2 separate regions of the Homo sapiens genome follow, and region 1 is linked to region 2. The links are contacts of gene promoters, found by promoter capture Hi-C in blood cells and fetal thymus (Javierre and others, 2016). All regions are on one chromosome and are shown on one strand. Each heading gives the region's core, a stretch centred on a gene start or on the middle of the fragment in contact. The rest is flanking DNA. Distances are from core to core; before and after follow the strand shown.

The links. Contacts are between HindIII fragments. The CHiCAGO score rates a contact against its expected background, and 5 or more counts as called.
Region 1: a contact is called between a fragment that was not itself captured here and the fragment with the promoter of RAPGEFL1 in region 2, in 1 of 17 cell types (neutrophils). The highest score is 5.2, in neutrophils.

The regions. Positions count from the first base shown.
Region 1 is chr17:40,445,600-40,448,299 of GRCh38, forward strand. All of the region lies in intron 1 of IGFBP4 (insulin like growth factor binding protein 4), which reads left to right. Among named protein-coding and RNA genes, the nearest start is that of IGFBP4, 3.5 kb to the left of the region's middle. The HindIII fragment of the contact is 3,027 bases long and covers 1-2,700 here.
Region 2 is chr17:40,176,085-40,178,784 of GRCh38, forward strand. RAPGEFL1 (Rap guanine nucleotide exchange factor like 1) reads left to right here and starts at 1,386. Exons shown (of 15, transcript NM_016339.6): 1 at 1,386-2,297. The coding sequence starts at 1,778. RefSeq lists enhancers at 265-765, 766-1,266, 1,658-2,514, 2,515-2,700 and a silencer at 1,298-1,427. The HindIII fragment of the contact is 3,169 bases long and covers 304-2,700 here.

The DNA.
Region 1 (2,700 bases), core at 111-2,610, 270 kb after region 2:
GATGGGTCAGCAGAAAACATTCTAGGAGAAATGCCAGCCTGGCACCCAGCATATCTGGGAAGGGGGGTCCTGGGGGAGAAAGTCGCTAATCTTGGGGCAGAGATGCCAGTGGCAATGGTAGAGGAGGGGTACTGAGACTGGGAGGGAGCAAGGGCCGAGCCCTTGGGTTCGCGGGGTACAACAGAGTCACGTTCCCTTTGAATCTCCATCCTCCACCAGCCAGAGGGTATCTGGCACCAGATAAGGATGGCTGGTAGCCTCCTCCTCTCTCAGCACTTTGAATGCAAGACAGAAGAGCCCTCAAAGGGCTGGGTAGGAATACCTCATCCTCTGGTTGGGTAGGAATACTCCATCCTGTAGTGGAGGAAAATAAGATCCCCTAGGGGTTTGGGGAGGGCATGGCATGAGAATTTTGTGGTTGTCCTCTGGATATAATGCAAACTGGCCTCCAGGAATATCTAGGGGCTGGGTGTGGAGGTTCATGCTTGTAATCCCAGCACTTTGGGAGGATTGCTTGAGGCCAGGAGTTCGAGACCAGCCTGAGCAATATAGCCAGACCCCCGTCTCTACAAAAAAAAAAAAAAAAAAATAGGCAACTGCAGTGGCTCATGCCTGTAGTCCCAGGTATTTGGGAGTCTGAGATGAGAAGTTCAAGGTTACAATGAGCTATGATCACGTGATTGCACTCCAGCCTGGGCGACTCTATTTCGTAAAAAAAAAAAAAAAAAAAAGTAGGCCGGGTGCAGTGGCTCACACCTGTAATCTCAGTATTTTGGGAGGCTGAGGAGGGTGAATCACCTGAGGTCAGGAGTTTGAGACCAGCCTGGTCAACATGGTGAAACCTCGTCTCTACTAAAAATACAAAAATTAGCTGGGCATGGTGGTGCGTGCCTGTAGTCCCAGCTACTTGGGAGGCTGAGGCAGGAGAATCACTTGAACCCGGGAGGTGGAGGTTGCAGTGAACCAAGATTGTGCCACTGCGCTTTAGCCTGGGTGACAGAGCGAGACTCTGTCTAAAGAAAACAAAACAAATAAACAAAAAAAACAAAAAACGGTGTCTTGGAATGGGGTGGCTTTAGGTCCCCTTTGGATGACACAGCCAAGGTCTGTAATGCCCCTCCCCCTTTCCTCCTTGCCTTGTCCTCCAGCCTCCAGCCATGCAATGGATGCAGGTATCTGGAGAGAGACGAGGGAAGCCTGGAGGTACCTACTGAGCAAGCTATGCCCGTGCCCTCCCACACCTCCTAGTCATCATAGAAGTAATCCCTTGCTGTGACCTGGGCCACATGGCACCATGTAAAAGGCACTCTCTAGAGTTCTGCTGCAGCCCTGCAGGGTCTGTGGGTGAGATAAGACGACCAAGCCCCTACCCACCCATCTTTTTAGCCTTACACAGTCAGTAGGCCACTGTCTGCTTTAGGTCCCAAGGTTTGGGCCCACTGGCCCGCGAATAGCTTGGTCGAGGGTACCTGTCTATTTTTTCTGCCTTTTCCTTTTGGGGCTGAGTGTCAGCAGGTGGCTGGGGGAGGGTGGCCACTTGGCATGCCCCCTTCTTTGGCTGCTATGGTCCAGCTGCCTCCTGTTTGCCCCAGGGGCAGATCTCCCCTTTCCGTCTCCAGCCACCCCTGCCTGCCCTCCTGTCACAGCTTTCCATGTGCTGGCCAGGTTGTGGCTTAACACCACTGAGGCCACCAGAGATGAGGCGGGGCGTGTGCATCAAAAGTCCACACCTCTGCATCCTGGTACTGATCCTAGACTCATGGAATCTGGGGGAGTGGACAGCGGAAAGATCAGCGTTTGGACGGGGAGTTCCTAAGCTGGGCTCTCAGTCCCTTTGGGACAGGGTTAGGGAACAGGCAGGCTGGGTTAATTTTTAGTCAATGCAGCAAATTCTGCCCCCCTACTTCAGTACTGGGAATCCAGTTATGTCATGGGAACAAGGGCATTCCCAGAAATTCTGTGCCTTGTGGGGAGGGGGAGGGAGGAGCATGGCCGCTTCCCATTTTTAATTTAGTACTGGCAAAGCTAGCAGTATTGGTGCCTCGGGTATCAGGAGTCTTTCCACTTAAAGACAGAGTGCTGCAGAGCTAAGTCTCTCCTCCTCCCCTTCCACCCAGTCTACTTCATTTTCCTAATTTTTAAAGTGGGGAGGGCAACAGGACCTGCCTCACAGGGTTGGGGCGTCTGGCATCGGGTAAGAGCTCAATAAATTGAAGTGATGAGGAAGATGGTGATGAAGAAGCTGATGCTGGGACTTAGGGAAGCGGTAGGACGAGGGAGCAAATTTGGGGCAACATTCAGAGGAGTTGAGAGGGGTGGGGTGGCCTTTGGTGCATTTTGCTGCTGTCAACATGGGAAGAACAGGCCAAGTTGCCTTATCTGTTTTTTATTCTGAGGCTGGCAGCATGACACAGCTGTTGGGGGTGATACCCCTTGAGCCAGACCTCAGAGAAAGGGCCTGGTACCCAGCACCAGCGGTCTTGGCTTCTCCAGCTAGAGTCTAGGGGAAGAGGGAAAAGACCTTTCTAGCAGGACAGGTGGGTGACCCTCTGGATCACAGCTGAAACTTCTGGTCGGGATGGCTGGGCCCACTCAGTTCATAGCCTAGGTGTCTCTCGAGGGCCAGGGGCTGGCGTTGGGGAGAAATTGTGAGGGTAAAATCAGGCAACAGGAAAGAGGAAATCCTCTGGCTTTCGCCAC
Region 2 (2,700 bases), core at 136-2,635:
CCTAACCAACAATTCCCAAATCCTGCCCAGAGAGAAGGTTACCAAGGCAACCGGCTTAATCTGGTAACTGTGGCATGTGCTGGGAGAGAAGCCCTTCCCTCTTCCTATTCAGTTCATAAAATGCTACCTGGGGAGCTCCAACCCATTCCAGCCACTTTCCCCTTTCAAGCCAGGGGATATTGGAGTGTCCAATAAGGGGAGCACAGGAAGCTGATACTCAGACCTCTAATACAGCTTCTTAGCCAAAATTGTGCGCTGTCTTCTTTTTACTGTTTCCAAATCCACAAACAGATGGGTGTGCAAAGCTTTATTTCTGTGAACACATGCTCTAGCACACATGGGAACAGATATGCACATACATTGATACGTATGTCATACACACCCTGTTCAGTTTTACTACCACTCCCAGCCATTAGCATTCCTGTCTCTGCCTGGTTGGTGCTCGGTAAACAGGGGTGGGGCATTGTCCAGAGAGCCTCAACCCATCGAGAACCTGCTGCCACTCCCACACCTTGTAAGTCTAACCTGGATGTTCTCACACTTAGCATGGCTTTACGATGCACCCCCCTCCTCCCCCACACTCCTTCTGGGGCAGCATATCCTTAAGGACAGAATGCTCCTGGTGTGGGCATCAGGAGTAAGGATTACTTGGAGTGCTAATTGGCACCACTTTTCCCACTCCATGGCCATGTACACTTGGGCTCTGTGCTTGATGATAGTCGGCAGTTCTGGGGCTTGTCACCTGTCTCCATGGCCCTGCTTCCTTCTGCTGCCAGCTGGGCTCAGGTGCCCTTGTGCTCCTGGTCTCCTCCCCACTGCCTATTATCCCCTCCTCACCCCAGCTAGACCTGCCACAACCTGCTGCTCCCTGCCTGGCTCCTACCTGCCTGCCAGTACCTGCCCACAGACCAGGCCCACACCACCTATTGTGCCCTACCAGAGAGGACAGATGGGCACCGCCTCCAGTGGCAATGCTAATTCACCCAAGAGGCCTTCCCAGCTCTTCTCACAGAAGGAAGATAAACTCCACATATTTCTGTGAGTATGAGAAAGGTGCACACTCTTGGGTTCAGCAATCTGTAGGCCTGACTTGGGTACACAGGTAGGTGAGTGAAGGTGTCCAGGCCACAGACCTGTCCTGACTCTTTGAAATGATGCTGAGACCCGGTTATCCCTTGAGCCAGGAATCCTTCCCCATTGGTAAATCTCTGACTTACCTTTGCCCTTAATTTCTTCTGCTTAGAACCCAAGTCCCTTACTGTTTCCCTCGCGGTCAACCCCAGCGCGCGAGTTCAAGCCTCGTGCGGCGCGGGGGCGAGCCGAGGAAGGGTAGGGGCGGGGACTGGGCGGGGACTGGAGGAGGGGGCGCGGTCTCGGTTCTGCCACCTTCCCCCTCTTCACGGCCAGGAGCGCAGCCGCCGCCGCCGCCGCCGCCGCGTCCTCTCAGCCTTGCGCTCCGCCCGCTGCCTCTGCCGCCGCAGCGCAGAGCCGGGCGCACCGGCCCCGCAGCCTGCCCACTCTTCGGGCCGCGTGCCGGCTGCAGCCGGCATGGGGGGTTGCTGAGAGCGAGCACTCCTTTCCTCTGGCACCTCCCCCGGCTACTGGCCACTGGACTCTGGCCAGCGAGGCTCGGCCCCTCTGGCCCCCAGTCTGGCGCCTGGCACGGCCCTCTACTCTGCTCCTCCAGCTCTGAGCATCGTGTCTTCGCCGCCCCCCCCGCCCGCGCCTGGGATACCTGGGTCCCCCGGCGACCCCTAGGAGAGGGGCGGGGGGGGGCATGAAGCCGCTGGAGAAATTTCTGAAGAAGCAGACGTCGCAGCTGGCGGGCCGAACGGTGGCGGGAGGTCCCGGCGGGGGTCTGGGGAGCTGCGGTGGGCCTGGAGGGGGTGGGGGACCCGGCGGGGGCGGCGGTCCAGCCGGGGGACAGCGGTCGTTGCAGCGGCGTCAGAGCGTGTCTCGCCTGCTGCTCCCCGCTTTCCTCCGGGAGCCCCCCGCCGAGCCGGGGCTGGAGCCGCCCCCTGAGGAGGAAGGAGGAGAGCCGGCGGGGGTCGCGGAGGAGCCGGGCAGCGGGGGGCCCTGCTGGCTGCAGCTGGAGGAGGTGCCGGGGCCCGGGCCTCTCGGGGGAGGGGGGCCCCTGCGCTCCCCTTCCTCCTACTCATCTGACGAGCTGTCCCCAGGCGAGCCCTTGACTTCGCCGCCCTGGGCCCCTCTGGGCGCCCCCGAGCGGCCCGAGCATCTTCTGAACCGGGTTCTGGAGCGGCTTGCTGGAGGGGCTACCAGGGACAGCGCCGCCTCAGGTAAGGAGCCGGTGGGCTCGAACACCCAGAGCAGGGGCTGGCCCCGGCTCCTCTTCCTTGCCCTTGGAGCGTAGGGGTGGCGCCGTGCCGGGGCTTGGTTATAGGGTTGAGTGGTCCGCGGAAGCCGGCTAGGGGCCTAGCGGAGGTACAGACCCTCCCGCGGAAGAGGAGAGCAGTACTCACCTTCCTCCCTACAGCAGCCTCACCCTCGTCTGGAGAAGCAGCTGAGCCTCTTACTCTCCTTCAGCCACCCTTCCTTTCCCCTGGGCATTGGAGCCACTGACTCCCATGGGTCCCTGATGTTGAATACCTCCTCCTGTGGCCCCAAATTAGGGCCTGACACATTAAAATGGGAGCTGCCCAGCGCAGCCATGCCACCCGCCAGAGGTGCTTTAGCCCTGAA